Regions from separate parts of the Homo sapiens genome. Here region 1 is linked to region 2. Evidence: promoter capture Hi-C in 16 types of primary human blood cells and fetal thymus (Javierre and others, 2016). All regions are on one chromosome and are shown on one strand. The core of a region is centred on a gene start or on the middle of the fragment in contact, and the rest is flanking DNA. Distances in the headings are between cores, read along the strand shown. Region 1 has its middle 18 kb from the start of MIR3610. Region 2 holds the start of UTP23 (UTP23 small subunit processome component).

Region 1 (4,512 bases), core at 966-3,465, 130 kb before region 2:
TTTTCCATGTTTAAGTGATTTTCCCTGGTAGTATGTTTTAATTTCTTCATTTTTATTTTTGGTGAATCTATTATAGGTTTTTGCATGGTTACCATGAGGCTTACAAAAAAAAACCATAGATATCACAAGTTATTTTAAACAGATGACATTTACCTTAGATCACACAATAAAGACCAGAAATAAAGGCAAAAAACACACATACGAAAAAATCTACACTTTAACTCTATCACCCTCATATTTTGAGTTTTAGTTGTCTCAATTTACATTTTTTACATTCCATATCTTTTAATAAGTTGCTGTAGCTATTATTGTTTTTGACAGATTTGTCTTTTGGGCTTTATTATCAGAGTTGTGAGTAGATTGCACACCACCATTATAGGAATAGAGTATTCTTGGTTTGTCTACGTACTTAATTCTACCAGTGGGTTTTACACCTTGAAAAGTTTTCTTTTTGTGCATTATTTTTTTTTCTATTTCAGACTGAAGATCTCCCTTCAGCATTTCTTGTAAGACAGATCTGCTGGTGGTGAATTCTCTCAACTTTTGCTTGTCTGGGAAAGACTTTATCTCTCTTTCATAGTTGAAGAATAATTTGGCTGGGCACAATATTCTTGGATGGCAGATTTTCTTTTCTTTGAACACTTTGAAAATGTCATTCCATTCCCTCCTGGATACATCTATGCCTTTGTATTGAAGGATTAATTATTTTTTCAAATTTCCTCTGACAGGCTTGTTTTGTTTTTTTAGTGGATATATTTGCCTAGAAAATCTTTACCACTATGTTGCAGCCTTCTTTTTGGCCCTAGGTGTGTCTTAAGTCCAGGTTCACCTTGGCTTTGGTAAATGATCAGAGTGATGTCCGTTTTGAATGGGTGAGGTCCTAAAGGGACCTGGCACTGTTAGAAGGCTAGCTAGGAGTTTACACCCAAGGAAACTATGAAACGTACCTTCTATGGTGTGATGCTCCTGAACAACCATTCTGATTTGATGTCTTCTTTTGCCAAGTTGCAGAGCAGAGTTTCCAGGGCTGGGGGTGGTAGTTCCACTTCCCTCCTTTGTCTTCACCTGTCCTCTGTGAAGTTTCTCCCTTCAGGCAGCCACAGTGCTTCCCTTGGGTTAAGACAATAACAGGTCTCCTCCCAAGATATCCAAGATGGTAGAAAAGCTGGTTGGCCATCTCAATCTCACTCCTTCCCTTGTAGAAACCATGAGTTGGAGAAGATTTTCCAGGTGCTAGTTGCCAGGCAGAATGGGGGGATGGGGTGTCATGGATGTGAAAGTCTGATTCTCCCACCATCTGCTCAAAGTACTCTCATTTCTCTGTGTCCCCAGGATCTGTCTCATCCTCATATTTGATTCTGGGTTGTTGCTGTATATTTGTTTTTGGTTTTCTGGCAAGGAGGTGGGGTAGTAAGACCAGCTTGCTTCTATGCCACCATTTAAACTGAAAGTCTAAGATCACTTTGTCTCAGACAAATACTAATCTTCTTAAAATGGTGTATAATGTGTGAGAATGGAGTATTTTGTCAAAGGAAAACAAATGTAAATCTCTATCTCCTACAGAAATGAGTTTATTTTCTCACTTTTAGCCTTCCATTGAAAAAAAGCAGTGTGTCAAAGCCAGCCTACTTATTATTCCGCACCCTTAAAACATATTTCAGTGATGAATCTGACAAGCTATACTCAGATTTTTTTCAGCTATTATAACTGTGCTATTATAAAAATGAAGCCTGTAAGAATCTTTCAAAAGGTAGAAGTCAATCATGTAACTCATTAATTCTACATGAAAAAGTCACATCAAAGACAGACTTTTTTTTATGATTAAAAAAAGTCTTATAAAAAAAGGAAAAAAGGCCAGGCATGGTGACTCATGCCTGTAATCCCAGCACTTCAGGAGGCTAAAGCAGGTGGATTGCTTGAGCTCAAGAGTTCAAGACCACCCTGGGTAATATGACAAAACCCTGTCTCTATAAAAAAAAATACAAAAAATACTATCTGGGTGTGGTAACATGTGCCTGTAGTCCCAGCTATTTGGGAGGCTGAGGTGGGAGGGAGGTGGAGGTTGTAGTGAGCCATGATTATGCCACTGCACTCCAACCTGAGCAACAGAGTGAGACCCTGTCTCCAAAAGAGGAAAAAGAAAAACCAAACCAGATAATGACATTGTTAATAGCACGGATTATTATTTAAAATAACAGTAGCTTCAAATATAGTGATATTGGTAGCTCTGTCCTTTCATTTAAAGGAGCATATATTCATTTAAATTATATCAAAATCTTTGAATATTTTAGTTTAAAATACTTATACACTGTCTATATAGAAAACCAAGCAATAGTTACTTAGGAAATTTCTACTTTGAAATCAATGTGAATTTCTGACAGCAGGCTCATTCCCTCACTCACTCCACTCCTTCCATGCTGGCCTCTTTGCTTTTGCTTGCCTTCCAGGGAATCTCCTGTCTCAGAGCCTTTGCATTTTCTCCTCCCTCTCCTGGACACTTCTCCCCTAAAGACTCACATGGTTCGTCCTCTCACCTTCTTCAGATATTCACATAAATATCACCTTCTGAAGGAGGTCTTCTTTGACTCTGCTATGGTTTGGATACTTGACCTCTCTAAACCTCATGTTGAAATATAATCCCCAATGTTCAGGGTGGGGCCTAGTGGGAGGGGTTTGAGTCATGGAGGTGGATCCATCATGAATGGCTTGGTGCCATCCTTGAGGTAATGAGTGAGTTCTAGGTAATGAGTGAGTTCTCGCTCTATTAGTTCCTACAACAGCTGGTTGTTAAAAAGAGCCTGACACCTCCTTCTTTCTCTCTCACTTTTTTTCTCACCATGTGATCTCTGTACATGCCAGCTCCACTTCTCCTTCTGCCACAAGTGGAAGTAGTCTGAAACTCTCACCAAAAGTAAATGCTGACATCATGCTTCTTGTACAACCTGCAGAACCATGAGCCAAATAAACCTCTTTTTTAAATATATAAATTATCAAGCCTCGGGTATTCCTTTATAGCAACACGAACAGACTAAGGCCGATGCTGTCAATTTTCTGTAATCCCATTTCCTACACTACTTTTCGTCATTGCATTTATCCCTTTCTAATGTATTACGTTTATCTCTTTCTAATGTATTACATATTTTACTTCTTTACTACAATTCAGTAAATATGTATTGCATTAATCAGTAAATAAAAGGAAGGAAAGTAGGGATGCCAGTGACATACATTTTGCTTGAATGGATTTGTATGCACCATGTGACTCTGAGTCTATAATGCTGGTGGCAGCTTCTTACTCCAGTTCATAGCTAAGGTGGTCTGACGCTGGAATCAAGAGTTTGGGATAGTGTCTTCCTGACTCCCCAGCTTTCTGAAGGTTGCAGAGGTAGCCCTTTCTTTGGTGAGCTGGTTCTTGGTTGACATTCTGGAAGTCAATCCCAGAGACATAGCCTAAAACCAGCTCTTCCCCATGATTAACCTCTTTCTTTTCTGATTATCCTAATGTTTCCTGTCACCTACAACTGAGCCCCAACTAATAAAGTATTGTATCCCCATTTCACAACAAGAAAACAAAGTATCAGGAAAATAAAATGACAACAATAAGTCAAGCCCAAGTTTATATGATCCCACAAACAAAATGAACTGTAAGATATTACAAAAGATATGGATGAATAGCCAGACAGAGTACATTCATAGGGCAATGTATGTGGAAAGGAAAGTGAAATTTCCATGCCCTCTGTGGGCATATCACCCTCCAGACACCTCCACGTGTTCAGCAATCCAGAAGCCTTTCTGAACACTATTCTTTTGGGTTTTTATGGAGGCTTCATTACATAGGCATGATTGATTACATTATTAGCCATTGGTGATCAACTTAACCTTCAGCCTTTCTCTGCTGCTTGCAGGGATTGGGGAGTAGGGTTGGGGAGGCTGAAACTCCCAACTCTCTAATCATGCCTTGGTCTTTCCAGTGACCCCCATCCTGAAACTACCTAGGTGCTCTTAGCCACTGTTATCTCAGTAACATACAAAGAAAAAAAACTCTTATCACTCAGGAGATTCCAAGGATTTTAGGAGCTGTACTCCAGGAAATGGAATGAAGATCAAATATGTATTTCACAACATCACAGAACAATCCTAGCTCCCTCTGCCAATGGCTCAGAATATTTAAAACCTACTCAGTCCAAGAAATTCCTCTTCTAATCCTAAGAAACATAGATTTATGGAACTAATGATAAATGTGTTCTTTCCAGTCCAGCTCTGTTTCTGGAATTCTTTGCATTTCCTACCAATGCCTGTTAAGAGTGTTCCCAAAAACAATAAAATCTTGCCGCTCAATAGTTGAGTGTTTGGCATAATGTATAATGTATGATATTTTAGGAATTTTCAAGAAACATTGCAGTGGAAAACTCAAATTCAGTCACAAAAGTGACTCTTTGCTTATAAAACAGTCATTGTGGGTTTACAATCTGTATTAGAATCAAATCTTCTTTCATCTGCAACTGGCTTGTTTTC
Region 2 (4,480 bases), core at 839-3,338:
TGATTTTTAAAAGCCTTCTTTATCTTTTCAAGATACATGCCAAAGAAGTGATAAATAATATGCTCCAAAGCAACCCATCAGTAAGGAGAGGTGAGGGATTCAACAAGATTGGCCATGTTAATAACTGCAAAAGCTGGAGAGAGGTTTCATTATATTATTCTACCTTTGAGTTGTCTGAAAAATTCCAGAGTTAAAATAAATTTGTTAGAAAAATTGCTGTAGAATATAATTTTATGTGGCACTTCTCAACCTTTTTAATATCATAGCACTATATTTAAAATGTTAATATTTCTATGGCACACAGGAGTATATGGACAAATTGCTTGTAGACAAAAGCAATCAATTCAGGAGCAAAGACTACTGAAGGATTTGTTAGACAGCCCTAAAGACTAAGGGGATCAAAACTTTGGGGGTATCTGTAACCCAGCCGAGACCCTGCTTGAGAAATTCTGAACAAATACAGATAGCTGTTCATTAAGTAATCGTATGTGAGGAAAAGGAGACTATTAACACAGTATACACAGAAAAAGCCCATACTTTGTTATGGCTGTAGTTAGAGATGGGGGTTTCCTACGTTGCTCAGGCTCACCTCAAACTCCTAGACTCAGGCAACCCTCCTGTCTCAGCCTCCTGTGTAGCTACTAGGATTACAAGTGTGAGCCACCTTGCCTGGCTTAAAAGTCCATTCTTGTGCTTGTGTGAGTGTGTATAAAGAACTGGATGGATGACACTGCACATGTTAACAGTGATTATTCGTGAGTAGTGGTATTATGAGTCATTTTAATTTTCTTTTTTTGCTTTTTAAAAGTAAATATTCTACAATGAAAAAACTACTAAATTTCTTAATAGTTCTTCATGGCCTAGCCTCAATTTGCCTTCTTCCTAGTTTCACTCCCAAATATATTCTGTGCTGCAACCTCTTTCCCAGGCATTTCATAACTCCATTTCGTGTGAAGAGGTCTCCACAACAAGAAGTGTCATTCTTTTCTGTCATTCAAAATAGTTCTTCCTCTCAGAACTGAACAAGTGAATGGGCTCAAATGTTATCTGAAATCTGTCACAATTCTCTCCTCTCTCCTCTTCATCCCGACAAGCTTCCATCCTAAGTGTTCCCACATTTCAATGAAGTGGGGAAACATCAGACCTAGAGTGAAAACACACACTGCAGACTGACTTATGCACTTTACTGGCCATGAGGGAGCAGTATGTGGCATATAGGAGGTACTTAATAAAGCGAGTTGAATAAACAAATGTGCTTGGGCAGATTCCTTAATCTCAAGTACTGACTTTTTGCCCTGGACATCAAAGATGGTAACTCACAGGTTCACTGTGAGGCTTGCAGAGTTTTGGTTTAAACTAAGAAAAGCTATGCAAATGACAGCAACCATTTGAAGACGGGTACACTTTGGATACCGAAAAATGCTCTAGTACACTATACTCGTTTGAGCTTACAGCAATCTTCTAAGCAGTTATCATCTTTATTTTACAAATGAGGAATCCGAGGCTCAGAGAGGCTAAATAACTTGACAGAAATCACAGAGCTGGTAGAACTGGGATCAAGATTCGAAGTCGGATCTCTCTGCTATAATGTGCTCTCATTCGCCAGGCTAACGACACGTGATATTCACAGGGCACTGTCCAATCTGCCTCTATTATAGGTATTCGCCTGACCACCTTCACCTCTCCACTTAACTGTCAACTCCACGTGGGCGGGGCGTTTTGCACCTCCTGAGCTCGCAATGAAGGTCTGTGAGCAACGGCCTCGCCTCTACAACACCCGACGGACCCTCTGTGCCTCCTCCCCAGCCCCCCGGGCCCACCTTGTGGTGCACAGCTGCGTCTCCCCCATGAGGTAGCGGGGCAGCTGCTCCCGCAGCTGGATGCGGCCCCGCAGCGCCGCCTGACAGAAGGTGCCGTCCAGCAGGATCTGGTACGGCTCGCGGACTCCGAAGTTGTTGCGGAAGAAGCCAAGATGCTTCTTGGCATGTTTCTGCCTTGTGATCTTCATGCCTGGCTTACCGGGACCGAGGCCACCGGACCAGGAAGCATCAGTAAACGCCTCACGCACGCCCCAGTACCCTCAATGCCAGTTTCACCCGGAAATGAAGCGCCTTTGGCCACGGAAGCAAACGCCTCTGTCTTCCGGGCCTGCCCATTGGTTTACGTCATGTCCAGACCAGCGCGCGCTTCCACCGCAGTGCCCGCGCTTAAAGGGGCGGTCCCTTAGGGCGGAACTTGTGCGTACGCTGGAAAACCGCTGGGGTGCGCGATTCCGCACGGGGGCGCACATGCGCAGTCTGGGGCCACGGTAAAAGAAAATTACGAGAATACATTTAGCGTGTTACCTACGTTTTAGAGGCGCGTAGCAAGAGCTTCTCTGAAAGACTGGCAGTATAGTAGTAGTCAGTGATAATATTGAGCCTTAATATGTTCCAGACACTGTCCTAAGTGATTTACCTTACATTATTCCCCTGAATGTTTATAATTCCCAAGTGAAAGAAGGAAATGATATATTGGATAGCTATGAGTGGGGAGGTTTGTACTGGCTGCTTTCCCATAAAGAAATTAAGCACGTTCACGAAGGGCACGTAGTTTGTTAGTGTCTGGAACCCAGTTTTCGTGCCTGAAGTTCAAATGTTCTTGCTACACCACCATAGAAACTAACGTCACTCAGGAACCATTTGTCAGGGCAAAGGGTGCCACCATTTTGCATTTCCTCCTGCCTTAGGACCATCCTAAATCACTCGCATGGAGTGTTTTGGAAGAACTCTCAAGAGCTTCGTTTGCCTAGAGTCAGAATTCCTAACCTTGAGTCCTGGTTTTGCCACAAACCCAAGCCGTTTGATCTTGGGCAACTCCCGAAGAAAGCTGGGTTCAACTTCCTCACTGTCAAACTGGTTGTAGGTCTAGATAAGTTTCAAGTACTCTTTTTATGTGCATGGTCTCTGACATAGGAAGACTACATACTGGGCCAGTAACAGGAAGGCACAAAGCTGACTGGAGGTTTAAAAATTACTTGGTCAATTTGATTAATGAGGAGAATGAATCAGAAAATTTCAAGTTCTCCCGTGGCTAACTGTCGAGTATCCACTTCAAGGTAAAATAATCAAAGAATGGGGAGTATGGAATTTTGCATTTTTGTCCTTGCCTGGAATCTGTCCCAGATCTAGTTTTGGCTAAAGATTGAAAGAACCAGCACAGAAAATGATTTACAACGTGATTGAATGCATTGTTTGCATTTGGGGTTTTATTTCAATATGTAGGTTTATGAAATTGGAATAAGATCTATAATGTTAGCCCTGATCTGAGTCCCAGCACATCACTTAGATGGTTGCTTTCATTTAAACTTAAAATGAATTTAGGAATTGGAAGCCATGAAAACTTTTGCAGGGTTGGATTCAAGGTCTTTGAGTGTAATTGCTCAGTACTTTTCAATTTGAATCCTCTTTTTATCCCTGTATGCCAACTCTCTACTCCAACTATGCGCCCACCACAGACAGAGAAACGAGATACCACCTGAGTCTTGCAAAACAGTTAAAACATTTTTTCTTAAATAGCCTCAGATTTATCTACCAGCTCCTTGGCCACTTTTCAGTACTAAGAAAAATGTGGTGCAGCACTAGGGATTTTAGTCTTATCTTAGTTTTTGTTGTCGTTTTTTAATTTACCAAGCTACAGCACATTTTTTCCCCAAGCTCTATGTATATGACAGTGCCAGTTTGCACCCTATCTTTATTATGAAAACATGAAGATGGTCTATAATGGTGATTATCAAGTTTAAAACAAAGTTTTCGGCCGGGCATGGTGGCTCATGCCTGTAATACCAGAACTTCGGGAGCCCGAGGCGGGAGGATCACTTGAGCCCAGGAGTTGGAAACCAGCCTGGGCAAAATAGGGAGCCCCTGTCTCTGCTAAATTAAAAGAAGACAAAAAGAGAAAAAAATAGAGTTTTCTATTACAGCAGTGTTTCTCAAAACAAGGTCCTGGGATATGCAGAAAAAGCTCTTAGTGTGCTTGTTTAAAATGCCCATTTCTGATTCAGAATAAGTATTGAGGGAGAGGGGTACTATTCAAAGAGGAAGTGACATTTATTACAATCTCCCCAAATCATTATTATGCTCATTAGTGTTCCTGAAGGACCTTTTTTGTAATAAAGCATCGTTTATCCAATAAGATATTTTTATTAATTGGTCCACTTAATACACTTTTGTTTAGATGCCAAATGATCTGTAATGGAAAATCAATATTTAGCCACAACCAAGGCAGAAGCCAAATACTGCCATTATTGAGTGAACCATTTGGATATAAATTTAAATCTGAAATTTTATTTTGAAAGTTATGTCATTATTAAAATATTTAATATTCATTGAAATTTTTTTGACCTTATACTGAAGGAACAATAATTTATAACAGCATTGCTAGTTTTTAGCTTTTTTCTCAGGTCAGTCCACTGGACATTTTCCATGCCAAATAGAAATCC

What was found. Contacts are between HindIII fragments. The CHiCAGO score rates a contact against its expected background, and 5 or more counts as called.
Region 1: a contact is called between a fragment that was not itself captured here and the fragment with the promoter of UTP23 in region 2, in 1 of 17 cell types (total CD8 T cells). The highest score is 5.1, in total CD8 T cells.

The regions. Positions count from the first base shown.
Region 1 is chr8:116,890,356-116,894,867 of GRCh38, reverse strand. No RefSeq gene overlaps it. Among named protein-coding and RNA genes, the nearest start is that of MIR3610, 18 kb to the right of the region's middle. The HindIII fragment of the contact is 9,463 bases long and covers 1-4,512 here.
Region 2 is chr8:116,764,132-116,768,611 of GRCh38, reverse strand. UTP23 (UTP23 small subunit processome component) reads right to left here and starts at 2,088. Exons shown (of 3, transcript NM_032334.3): 1 at 1,821-2,088. The coding sequence starts at 2,008. It also overlaps a transcript of EIF3H not described here. RefSeq lists enhancers at 1,702-2,011, 2,022-2,171. The HindIII fragment of the contact is 9,967 bases long and covers 1,097-4,480 here.